Linked DNA regions of Homo sapiens: all the other regions are linked to region 4. The links are contacts of gene promoters, found by promoter capture Hi-C in blood cells and fetal thymus (Javierre and others, 2016). All regions are on one chromosome and are shown on one strand. The core of a region is centred on a gene start or on the middle of the fragment in contact, and the rest is flanking DNA. Distances in the headings are between cores, read along the strand shown. Region 1 overlaps SGO1 (shugoshin 1). Region 2 has its middle 70 kb from the start of MIR466. Region 3 has its middle 4.5 kb from the start of KAT2B. Region 4 holds the start of OXSM (3-oxoacyl-ACP synthase, mitochondrial).

Region 1 (2,768 bases), core at 116-2,615, 5.6 Mb before region 4:
TATTGGGGTCCATTCCAGAGGAACATATTTCCTGGTTCTGTTAATGTATTAAAACAAAACACTGTTATAACTGAAGTATTCACAAGAAAGCATTAATTTATTCAACAATATGCACTTGTTGACAGTCTATCATGGTGCCATGCCATGGTTCTAGGAACTGAGACTATAACAGCTCAAAAGCAGAGTAAGTCTTATCCTTTTAAAGCTTACATTCTAGTGCAGGGAAGTAAAATTTTAAAAAGAGAAGATATATGTACAAAATTTCAGATTGCGATAAATGTCATGAAGGAAATACCCAGTGTGAGGTGATAGAGAGTAACTCAGGTTGGATTGCTCTTTTAAATACAGTGAATGTGATATAAATCAGAAGACTGCAAAGGAGCTAGCCACTGAAAGAACAGGAGGAAAAGAAGGCAGTGGAAACAGCAAATACACATAAGAAAAATCTTGCTGTGTTTAGGAAAGAAAGGTTGTTGTGGCTGGAACATAGTCACTGAGAACAGTAGGAGATGTACATGCAGGGGCCACATAATGTAGGGCCTTGAGAGCCATGAGTTTAGATTTTAGTCTAAGTATGATGGGAAGGTACTTAATATTAAGAAAGGAAGTAAACTGATTTAAGTTTTTGAAAGATCAGTCTGAATTGAAAGAGGCCGGGGGTAGAAAGAGCTGAGAGGTCATCATTGCATATCTGGCAAGATATGATATCAGCTAAGATTAGAGTCATGGCTATGGAGGTGAAGCCCAGTGGAAGGCCTTGAGATGACAGGTCAAGCTCAAGGACTGAAAAGGGATGGAGATGGGAACAATGAGGGAGAGGAAAGCCTCTTGTGGTTTTGGCCTAAGCAAACATGTAGGCTACTTTACTGAGTAAGACTTATAAAGGAAGGTAGGAAGTATACAGCATCTGTGGGGGAGACAAGGGGAAGTTGTGCTTTATATAAGGTATGTTTGAGATCCCTTATAAATCTTTAAGTGGAGATAGCAAATGGTGGCTGTGGGTATATGTGTGTATGTGTTTGTTTTTAGATTTTGTACTATTAACTGGGGAGGCATCAGCAGACAGACAGTACATAAAGCTATGAGAGGGTATAAGATGAGTCTACAACAACTGGCATTCATTCATTTTTTTGAAATAAAGTCTTGCTTTGTCACCCAAGCTGAAGTGTAGTGGTGCTATCATAGCTCACTGCAGCCTTGAACTCCTGGGCACAAGCAATCCTCCTACCTCAGCCTCCCAAGTAGCTGGGACTACAGGTGCATGCCACCACAACTGGCTAATTTTTATTTTTTATTTTGTAGAGATGGGAGTCTTGCTGTGTTGCCCAGGCTGGTCTTGAACTCCTGGGCTCAAGCGATCCTCTCACCTCAGCCTCCCAAAGTGCTCTGATTACAGCCACGAGTCAATGTGCCTGGCCAATAAAATGCCTGACATTTACAGGTAGAATGAGGAAGAAATCAGCAAAAGAGACCGACATGGAACAGTCAGAAAGGTAGAATGAAAAGCAGGGGAGCATGATATCATGAAAACTAAGAGATCAAAGTATGTCAAGTAAAGAGTGGTCCCTGTTTTGCATATTATTACTGCAAGGTCAAGAAGAAAGAGAAGTGACCACTGAATTTGGTAACATGGAGGTTTTGGTGACCTTGACATGCAGTGACAACAGAATGGTAAGGATAAAATCTAGATTCAGAGTGGCTGCAGGCCAGGCGTGGTACCTCATGCCTGTAATCCTAGCATTTAGGGAGGCCGAGGCAGGGGTATCACTTGAACCCAGGAGGTCAAGACCAACCTGGGCAACATAGTGAGATGGTCTCCACAAAAAAGTTTTAAAAAATTAGCTGGGCGTGGTGGTGTTCCAGCTATTCAGGAGACTGAGGTGGGAGGATCACTTGAGCCTGGGAGGTCAAGCCTGCAGTAAGCCATGATATGCCACTGCACTTCAGTCTAGGCAATGGAGCGAGACTCTGTCTCAAAGGAAAAAAAAGAGTCGTTTCAAATGTGAATGGAAGCTGAGGAAGTGAAGAATATACTGTTTTCTTTTAAAAAGTTCTGCTGTGAAGGGAAGCAAAGAAATGAGGAGATAAAGAAATATGAGACCAGGAGAGGTTTCATTACTTTTTCTCTAAGGTTGAGAGATACGAAAGCACATCTTTATGATGACTGAAATGATCCAGTGGAGAGGGGGATATATAGAAGAGAGAACAATATTCCAGGAATAAAGTTGTAGAGGAGGTGAGAAGAGAAAATTGGATGCATGGGCTGGGGAGTGGCTGGGGTTGGTGCTTGCCTTTAGTAGGAACAGGGGCCATTCTGCCACTGTAACAAGAGGGAAGATGAAGAACCTAAGTATAGAGGTGGATTTGCAGATCTCTGTTATGAAGATGACAATTCTCACTCAATTCCTAAGAAGCCAATTCTAATTTAATTATCTTTTGAAATTTGATGAACATATGCTGACATTATAATAAATAAGCTAAAAATGTTCATTAAAAACAAAACAACTAGAAATTTAATCCTGTTAAAAGCTTTAGGCCAGGTGTGGCGGCTTCTGCCTGTAATCCCAGCACATTGGGAGGCCAAGGCCAGAGGATTGCTTGATACCAGGAGCTCAAGACCAGCTTGGGAAACATGGCAAGATCCTGTCTCTACCCCCAACAAAAAAATTAGACAGGTGTGGCAGTGCATGCCTATAGTCCCACCTATTCAGGAGGCTGAGATGGGAAGATTGCCTGAGCCTGGGAGGTGAAGGCTGAGTGTGCTTGAG
Region 2 (2,809 bases), core at 1-2,500, 5.4 Mb after region 4:
GTTAATGAGTACAAAAAAAACATAGAATGAATAAGACCTAGTATTTAATAGCACAACAGGCTGACTATATTTGACAATAATTTAATTGTACATTTTAAAATAACTAAAATAGTATAATTGGATTGTTATAACACAAAGGATAAATGCTGAGGAGATAGATACCCCAATATCCATGATGTGATTATTAAGCATTGCACGCCTATATCAAAAGAACTCATGTACTCCATAAATACATACACCTGCTATATACTCACAAAAAATTAAAAATAAATTTAAGAAAATTATTAATAGTTTCAAGACAGTAACAGAAGAGCAAGAACCCAAGCACTGAGCCCTTCTAAGTGTAGGACCTCACACCCATGAAGCCAGCTTTGATGGTGCATGCCCCATACTTTGTATATTACAGAGAAGGCAAGCATCCAAGGGAATGAGTACATGTGAACACCCTGTAGGAAACTTGAAGGGAAGTATGGAGGGCCATCAATGCTACCTGAGGCAGGAAACAAAGCCAAAGTATGGGACTAATAATTCTACGTCATACTGATGAGAAGAACCACAAGACAGTCAGGTCAGATACAATAATGAGGCATGTGGCTGGAACTATTGCCTGGAACTGTTTGTGATTTCGTTTTAGAAAACCAGTTTCCTGTTTTTTAAATAGTCAAAGTTAGAGTTGAAGAAGATGAAGGAGATAGTAATGTCATGACCTGATATATCTGGCAGCATCCTAGCAAGAAACATCCAGGGTGCTTAAAGATATAGCTGCAGAAAGTTTACTAAAGGGACAATACACAGAAAAGTGTAGGCAGGGTTACAAGCACCAAAAGGGACAATCACACAGAAGCACTAACAACAGCAGGAAGCTGTTACCAGCCCTAGACCTGAAGGGGCAAGGGGAGGCAGTGGTTATTGGAACTTAGAAAGGACTGAACTCCTGGGAGAGGGCAGGCTCACAGGAGCCAAGACCTTAGGGGAAGAAATGCAGTCACTGCCAAACCACAGCCCAGTAGGGAAGGGGCAGGAATAATAAATGCATCAACTTATTTATCTTCCCAGGACCTCCCATTGACAGAACCCAACCCAGAACAGGAGGGCAATAGATCCTGGATGACGCAGCCCAGAAGTCAGCCTCCTGGGGCACAGAGCAGGGAGGACAAGGAGGGAGATGGGCCTGGAGGGCACCTGGAAATTAATCAGCACATCTGGTGACATGTATCTGTGGAGGTGCTGGGGAGTGTGTGAGACTATTGGGGGTGAGGGTCAGGGGGCAGCGGTGGGGTCAGTGGGGGGTGGGGGGGAGGCGGGGCGGTATTTAAGAGAGTAGCTGATTGCACCCAGATTTTGGACTAGGCAAACTGGGTGAAAAATGACTCCATTCACTGAGCTGGGGAATTCAGAAGAGGAACATCTGGGGGAGGAGTTTTGGCTGTGCCATGTTTGGAGGCATAAAGGACATCCAGGGAACAGAGTAATCAGGACTGGCACTATAGAACTGGAGGTCATGGATCTGTAAGAGGCAGTTGAAGTCAGTGGGAAGACCAAGGACAAAGATCCAGCAACACCAACATGCAAAAGGAAATTGGGGGGAAACTAAGGAGTGGCCAGATGGGTAAGAAGAAACTGAAAAGAGTTGTTGGAGGGAGGGGGGGCAGGGTGGAAATATTCAGCCAAGATAATTTCCAGAGGGAGTGAGCCTTAAGTCATTGTACAAGAAGCCATTAAGTGGAATCCTGCATTGCATAGGTGTCTGGATAAGATGACCCCTTAGCCACGTCCCATCCCTGTGTTTCCACTATGATCAGAGATGAAGTAGAGCAGCAGTTCTCAGCTACCCCCTACCAAAGTTCCCAGTCTGCCCCAAAGACGGAAGGCAATGCCTCAAACACCACAATCCCCAACTTGGAGAAACCACCTCTGGCTTCCAACCCTCCTTGCCACCAATCTCTCAGTTTCTTCTGAAGCCAGCACAGAGGGATTAGCTGAGAAGGTTTGTGTTGAGGGGAATGGAGGCCCAAGAGAAAATAGGAGGAAATGAATCTCCCTTGGAATCCTTGAGGCAAATCAGGGCTAACACTCCAGCCACAAGCTGCAGTAAGTTTGGCCTGCTGGTCAGCTATGCAGGACAGATAGCAAAGAAGCCAACTCCTCTTGTCAGCCCCGAGCAGATGCCGAAGTTCTTCTGCAGACCCAGCTCTCTGCTACCTGCCAGTCCACGCTGCTGTCCCTCTCCACCCTTGTACTACCCTCTTCAGCCACACAACCAAATTCTGTGATTTCCTCTCTCCAGGGCATGTTTGCCCTCATCTGACTTGATGTTGAGGGTGTAGTCCCATGAGAAACTAAAGGGAAATAAGGTTAGAGAGAGCTTCCTCTGACCCTCCGCCCTCACCCCACCCCTCACGGCCAGGACAGCCCCATGCCCAGGTGTCACACAGAGGCCCCCCTCCAGCTCCCCTGCATGCCCTCGGTCTCTTTTTCAGGGAAAGCCATGGTTGAGCTGACAATCCTGCCTCTGAAAAGCCTTAAGTGCTTCCTAGAAGATGCATCTGACTTTCACCAACACTAGTGGCTAGCACTTCCGCTTCCACAACCCTGTTGCCTCTCCAGGAAAAGCCTCTTTAACCAAGACCGCCTTAAGCCACTAGCCGAATGAGGCCAGTTCCTCTCAGCTACTTCTCATTTGCCTTCTGCCTGCCCTGTCAATGGCATTTGCCAGTGCTCAGTTAATGTTTCTGGAACTCTGGAACTACAGTTTTCTTATTCACTGAGGTAGCCAAACTAGAGTGCTTCCCAAAAGCGCTTCTTCTGA
Region 3 (2,830 bases), core at 254-2,753, 5.8 Mb before region 4:
AATGTTAATGATCTATTGATTGCATGTTGTGGGCTGAATTGTGTCCCTCCAAAATTCATATATTGAAATTCTAATCCCTAGTACTTCAGAATGTGACTGTATTTTGAGATTGTCTTTAAAGAGGTAGTTAAGGTTAAATGAGGTCATTAAGGTGGGCCCTAATCCCATATGACTAGCATCCCTAGAAGAAGAGATGAGAACACAGAAACACACAGAGAGAAGATCACATGAAAACACCGGAGAAAAACCACCATCCACAAGCCAAGGAGAGAGGCCTCAGAAGAAACCAATCTTGCTGTCACCTTGATCTTGGGTTTTTAGCCTCCAGAATTCTGAAGAAATAAATTTCTGTGTTTAAGCCACCCAATCTGTGGTACTTTCTTATGGAAGCCCTAGCAAACTTATATACTGTGGTAAAATCAGAAGTCAGTTTGTGTCATAAAAATGTAGATAAAAAATTATAGACAATAACAAAAAAGATGGGAGCATTTGGTGAGTACTTCTATACTAACATCTTGCTTGATTTTTAACTATGTAGGATAAACACATGTCCTTTCCTAGAAATGAGACCCTGGCAGAGTTGAGTAGTTGTGAGAGACCGCGTCCCACAAAGCCTCAAATATCTTCATCTAGCCTTTAACGGTGAAAGTTCACTTGATCCTTCTCCATGGGTTTATTTTGCAAACATCAAAAAACATGACCAAAGATACACTTCCGTACATATTTACTTCTGGGGTGGGCAGGCAATTGGGAAATGAGATAAAGAGAGATATAAAAGAGCAGTCTTTAATTACATATTTATTATATATGTTTATGGAAAATGAAAACATTAAAAATCTGGTTGGTGAATATACAAATATATTACTTTATTTTTCAATATGTTTGAAATATTTTATAACAATATAAAACTATTGTGGTTTTGAAGGGATATAATGTTACTATACTGAACAATCGTCATTTTTCTTTGTTTTTCTTAGCCAAAGCATTTGCTGATGTATAGCACCTATTTTATACATTGGAACACACTACTCTGTGCTTTGATTTTAGGCTTAAAAGGTCAGTGGCAGTGTGCTCAGCCAATCAGGAATTAGGATTAAGGAATTGAAGCCTTTTATACTAAAGGCTTCCCTTATAAGGGGACCCTAAATTAGAAAACCTGTTTTGAGAAAGATTTTTTCCCTAATTTGTGAAACTATATATATGAATGTTTTTATATATTTAGGGAATTAGAATCCCTCAGGTTTATTTTAAACAATTATCTGGCACTAACAGGAATACAATTTATGATGTTCATATCATTCCAGAAAATCTAGGTCACACCAAAGTCGGTTCTTTGGAAATTTGATTTCCTTATATAATTTTCAAGGTGCTTGAAACAATAAATTCTCATGTGCTGCTTTGGAAAAGTAGAAAGTCATTTAGCCTGAATTCAGAAGAAAGCCGACTTTATTTCTTTTACTTACATTGTACTTTCATTGTAAATGGTAAGTAAACTGGTGAAATAAGTATGCGTTAATATTTAAAACAGAAAGCAATATAAAAAAACCCCTCTGTCTTTACAAGGGCAAGGCTTAGCCAAATATACTTAGGTCTATTCATATTAATAATAGAAGATTGTTACTAAGGATAACTAAGAATTAAAATAAATAAGGTTGGGTAGTGCAGTGGCTCATGGCTGTAATCCCAACACTTTGGGAGGCCCAGGCAGGAAGACTGCTGAGGCCAGGAGTGAGAGACCAGTCTGGGCAACATATTGAGACCTTGTTTCTAATAAAAATTGGAAAAAAAAAAAAAAGTAGCCGAGTGTGGTGGCACATGTCTGTAGTCCCAGCTACTTGGGAGGCTCAGGTAGGAGGATTACTTGAGCCCAGGAGGTCGAGGCTGCAGTGTGCCTTGATCATAACACAGCACTCCAGCTTGGGTGACAGAGCTAGACCCTGCCTCAAAAAGAAAAAAAAAAAGGTTGAATAAAATAGCACTAATGGCGCTGGGCATGGTGGCTCACGCCTGTAATCTCAACACTTTAGGAGGCCAAGGCGGGTGAATCACGAGGTCAGGGGTTCGAGACCAGCCTGGCCAACATGGTGAAATCCTATCTCTACCAAAAATATAAAAAATCAGCTGGGCGTGATGGTGGGCGCCTGTAATTCCAGCTACTCGGGAGGCTGAGGCAGGAGAATCGCTTGAACCCAGGAGATGGAGGTTGCAGTGAGCCGAGATAGCGCCACTGCACTCCAGCCCAGGCGACAAAGCGAGGCTCTGTCTCAAAAAAAAAAGAAAGCACTAATGGTATTTGGGGCATGGTTAAGATTCACACTGGAAATGATTTAATTCATAAATGCTTGAAAACTAGGGAAGGGGATTTTATGTTTCCTCATCCTAGGATTCATTTATTATTTTCAAAACTTTTTTCCTAGGAGGATTTATTTTATTTAATTTAAAATAAATGTTCAGTAATTATAGCCACTTCCCTCAGAGGAAGGTTGGCCCAAGGAGCCCCACTTAGGCATTGACATGTCTCTTTATTTTACACTCATATCCAACTGCTGTTTCTAAAAGCAGGTGTCTGGGAAGAATGTCAGTCATGGTCCATGTACTGGGCCAAACCTGCACTTTGACCACTTGATCTGTACCCTTACAGTCTGTGCCTTTACTGGGGATAATTTCAATCCATCTGTGGGATTCAGGGTTACTGGTACATTACAGAAGCTGTATAGCCTTGGTAGGAAGGAATATGGCAAGAAACTCTGCTAGATGATATAACAATAGATGGCCACAAAACTTGCCTTTTTTAGGAAGGCATCTCTGAGCAAGGAATACCAGATGAATA
Region 4 (2,893 bases), core at 315-2,814:
AAAAATGATGGTCTTTTTATTTTTCTGAAAGATTTTGTCACCTCTTAGCCAAGACGATTTTGTGATATTACAAAAGAAATAGCACATTAAAACTGTATGTTTCTTATGAGTTCAGCTTCAGAGAAAATATTGTAGGTATTTTCACACTATTATTTTAAAGACAGCAATGAAAAGAGATCAAGTTTAGGTACTTACTCATCAAGTGTTACTTTATAACCACATGTGTTTGTTTTAATTCTTCAAGAAACTCTACTTTGTCACTGAATGAGGATCAACTAGAGGTGACTGGTTAGGCCTGGGACGAAGGTCAAACTGAGCTTTGCTGAATTATTTTAAACAAAATAGATTTCCAAACTCATTTAAATCCAGGACCAACCTGGAAAGCTAAGCTTGACTCACATTCTTCTGTAGGGGTAGGAAAGAATGCAGAGCACTCTACTTGGAAACAATGGCTTCAAGAGGCATTGCCCAGAAAAAACCATAAATATGACTAGAAGGTCCAGATGAAGATTCTATGCTCAACCATTTTTCTAAAGAAGAGCAAGGACAAAACTCACGCCTGGGATAGCATGTGAAAAACAGATGTTCGATGAATACCATCTTGTCGACTTCTTGCTTTTTTACATTTTCATGTTATATTTTCCCTTTATCGGTTTGCAGTCAGCTCTAAGCAAACAGTTAATGAATTTTTCACACTTAGAAACAAATGTCTCCATTGTGACAATGGAGACAATTTTTGAGCACTGTCTCAAATCTGGTGATAATTTTTTTTTAAGTGAAAGGAAGTTTATTAGGAAAGTAAAGGAACAAAGAATGACTACTCCATAGGCAGAACAGCCTGGTGACAACTTTTAAAAAGTAAAAACTTTATTACAAAAACATTTGTTTATTGTAGAAAAGCTTTATTAAATAAAGCTAAGCAAAAATAAGGAGGGAAAGATCACAATCAGTATACATCTTGCAGACCTTTAAAGAATTATTTTTGAAAAAACGGATATATACTGTTTTGTAACTATGTCTCCTAACAAATAGTCGCAACATCTCATTAATAAATATTCACCTGCAGAATTATTTTAAACGGCTGCATGGCATTTGGATGTACCACAAGATACACAACAAATTTCCTGATGTTGGCCATTTTGGTTAATTCCACTTTACTCACAATTACTAATAACGTTGCGAGCTATAGCAATAACTTTGAAACTGCAGAGAATTTCCTTAATTCTTTCTTACAATTCCAGTAGAATACGATGGTGTCCCTTCTCCGACAAAAGGGAATATTTGGGCATTATCACTGCCAAAGAAAAATGCCTTTTTGATGGGTGAAAATGCTACCTCATCGCGTTATTGGCAGGTCCTCGATTATCGGCGAGTCACTGAGGTTCCGAGAGGGGCGTCTCTGCTCACGCAAACAGCTACCCAGCCGCCTCCCACGGTCTGACCTCAGCCAAGGTGACGCGGCTTAAAGTCAACCGGCGGAAAGAGAGTCGAACGGGACGCGTGCGTGGGAAAGCGCATGAGCGTACGTGCGAGCGCGCATGAGCGTACGTGCGTGTGCGCGTGCGCTCGAGAGCGTCATCGCCCCCGACTGTGGAGAAGTGTCCGGGGTAGCCCCGTTACAGGTATCGCTGGCTACCCTCCTCCTTCGCCCCTCCTTTCCTCCTTTACATTCAAATCAAGTCGGGGTTGAATTTCGAGAGGGGAGTCCGAGGACCTGGGGCCTGATTTCTTTTTCTCTCGCCATGCTTCTTCGGGCTGTGTACATGTGTGGTGGTGCCTGAGAGGCGATACAGGGAATGGCTACACTCTTTTACTCCCGCCCCTGGCCTTCGTAGTACCCTTGAAGTGATCCACTAGTCGTAACCCCTCCTTCCACCAATGATTCAATTGGAGAAGTTTAGAGGAGTGGAAAGACTTGTCCCCTTCCCCCATCGCAAGCTTGGTCACAGAGTGTATTGCCAACCCATGTATCCAGACGCTCAGTCTAGGGCTCTTGGCCCTGGGTAGCGTTTTGAAAAGGCTGGTTATCCTTAAGTACTGAAGATTGATAAAGCCCACTTACTTACTTAAAAGAATATGCCCTGAAATGTGTTTTCTGTGCCACTGACACCAGAAATGCTATTTAGAAGAAGTTATCAGTAATCCTGACAAAGGATGCTTCCTGCAGCTCAAATCAGGCTGGAGGTGCCTTTATATTTTTCATTGAATTACTGTTTTGGTGACTCGAATGAATCATCAATTCATTTATTTGTCTTCAAATGTCTGACGGCACTTAAGGTCTAAAAAAGAAGGTAAGTTTAAACAGATAGTTTGATGTTAAGGTATAAATTGAAAGTATGTAACATTTTCCCTGTGTTCATTAGCAGCTCATATCAAGCACCCAAAGGAACACCTTGGATGTTTTTCCTTAGGCCCTTAAGCTATTTAAAAGAATACCTCCTAGGTGTGTTGTGGTCTTTTACAGGAATGTGTTTCTGATCATCTGAATCTTAATCATGTCCAACTGCCTGCAAAATTTCCTGAAAATTACAAGCACTCGTCTTCTATGTTCAAGATTATGCCAACAGTTAAGAAGTAAAAGGAAGTTTTTCGGAACTGTGCCAATATCCAGATTGCATAGGCGAGTTGTCATTACAGGCATTGGCTTAGTGACTCCTCTTGGTGTTGGAACTCACCTGGTTTGGGATCGTCTTATCGGAGGAGAGAGTGGAATTGTTTCACTGGTTGGTGAAGAGTATAAGAGTATCCCTTGCAGTGTTGCTGCTTATGTGCCAAGAGGTAGTGATGAAGGTCAGTTCAATGAACAAAACTTTGTGTCCAAATCAGATATCAAGTCCATGTCTTCTCCCACCATCATGGCCATTGGGGCTGCAGAATTAGCCATGAAGGATTC

The links. The method cuts DNA at HindIII sites, captures the fragments that hold promoters and counts their contacts. A CHiCAGO score of 5 or more calls a contact.
Region 1: a fragment that was not itself captured here is called in contact with the fragment with the promoter of OXSM in region 4 in 1 of 17 cell types (M0 macrophages); the score reaches 6.7 in M0 macrophages.
Region 2: a fragment that was not itself captured here is called in contact with the fragment with the promoter of OXSM in region 4 in 1 of 17 cell types (total B cells); the score reaches 8.3 in total B cells.
Region 3: a contact is called between a fragment that was not itself captured here and the fragment with the promoter of OXSM in region 4, in 1 of 17 cell types (activated CD4 T cells). The highest score is 9.9, in activated CD4 T cells.

What each region holds. Positions count from the first base shown.
Region 1 is chr3:20,178,311-20,181,078 of GRCh38, forward strand. SGO1 (shugoshin 1) reads right to left here. Exons shown (of 8, transcript NM_001199251.3): 4 at 1-37. The region is part of intron 3 of SGO1-AS1 (SGO1 antisense RNA 1); the gene reads left to right. Among named protein-coding and RNA genes, the nearest start is that of SGO1-AS1, 5.4 kb to the left of the region's middle. The HindIII fragment of the contact is 2,324 bases long and covers 204-2,527 here.
Region 2 is chr3:31,229,998-31,232,806 of GRCh38, forward strand. No RefSeq gene overlaps it. Among named protein-coding and RNA genes, the nearest start is that of MIR466, 70 kb to the left of the region's middle. The HindIII fragment of the contact is 7,716 bases long and covers 1-2,809 here.
Region 3 is chr3:20,034,535-20,037,364 of GRCh38, forward strand. No RefSeq gene overlaps it. Among named protein-coding and RNA genes, the nearest start is that of KAT2B, 4.5 kb to the right of the region's middle. The HindIII fragment of the contact is 3,574 bases long and covers 1-2,830 here.
Region 4 is chr3:25,788,526-25,791,418 of GRCh38, forward strand. It overlaps OXSM (3-oxoacyl-ACP synthase, mitochondrial), which reads left to right and starts at 1,565. Exons shown (of 3, transcript NM_017897.3): 1 at 1,565-1,622; 2 at 2,465-2,893. The coding sequence starts at 2,496. It also overlaps a transcript of NGLY1 not described here. RefSeq lists enhancers at 1,044-1,573, 1,713-1,782, 1,793-1,862 and a silencer at 1,391-1,610. The HindIII fragment of the contact is 1,038 bases long and covers 899-1,936 here.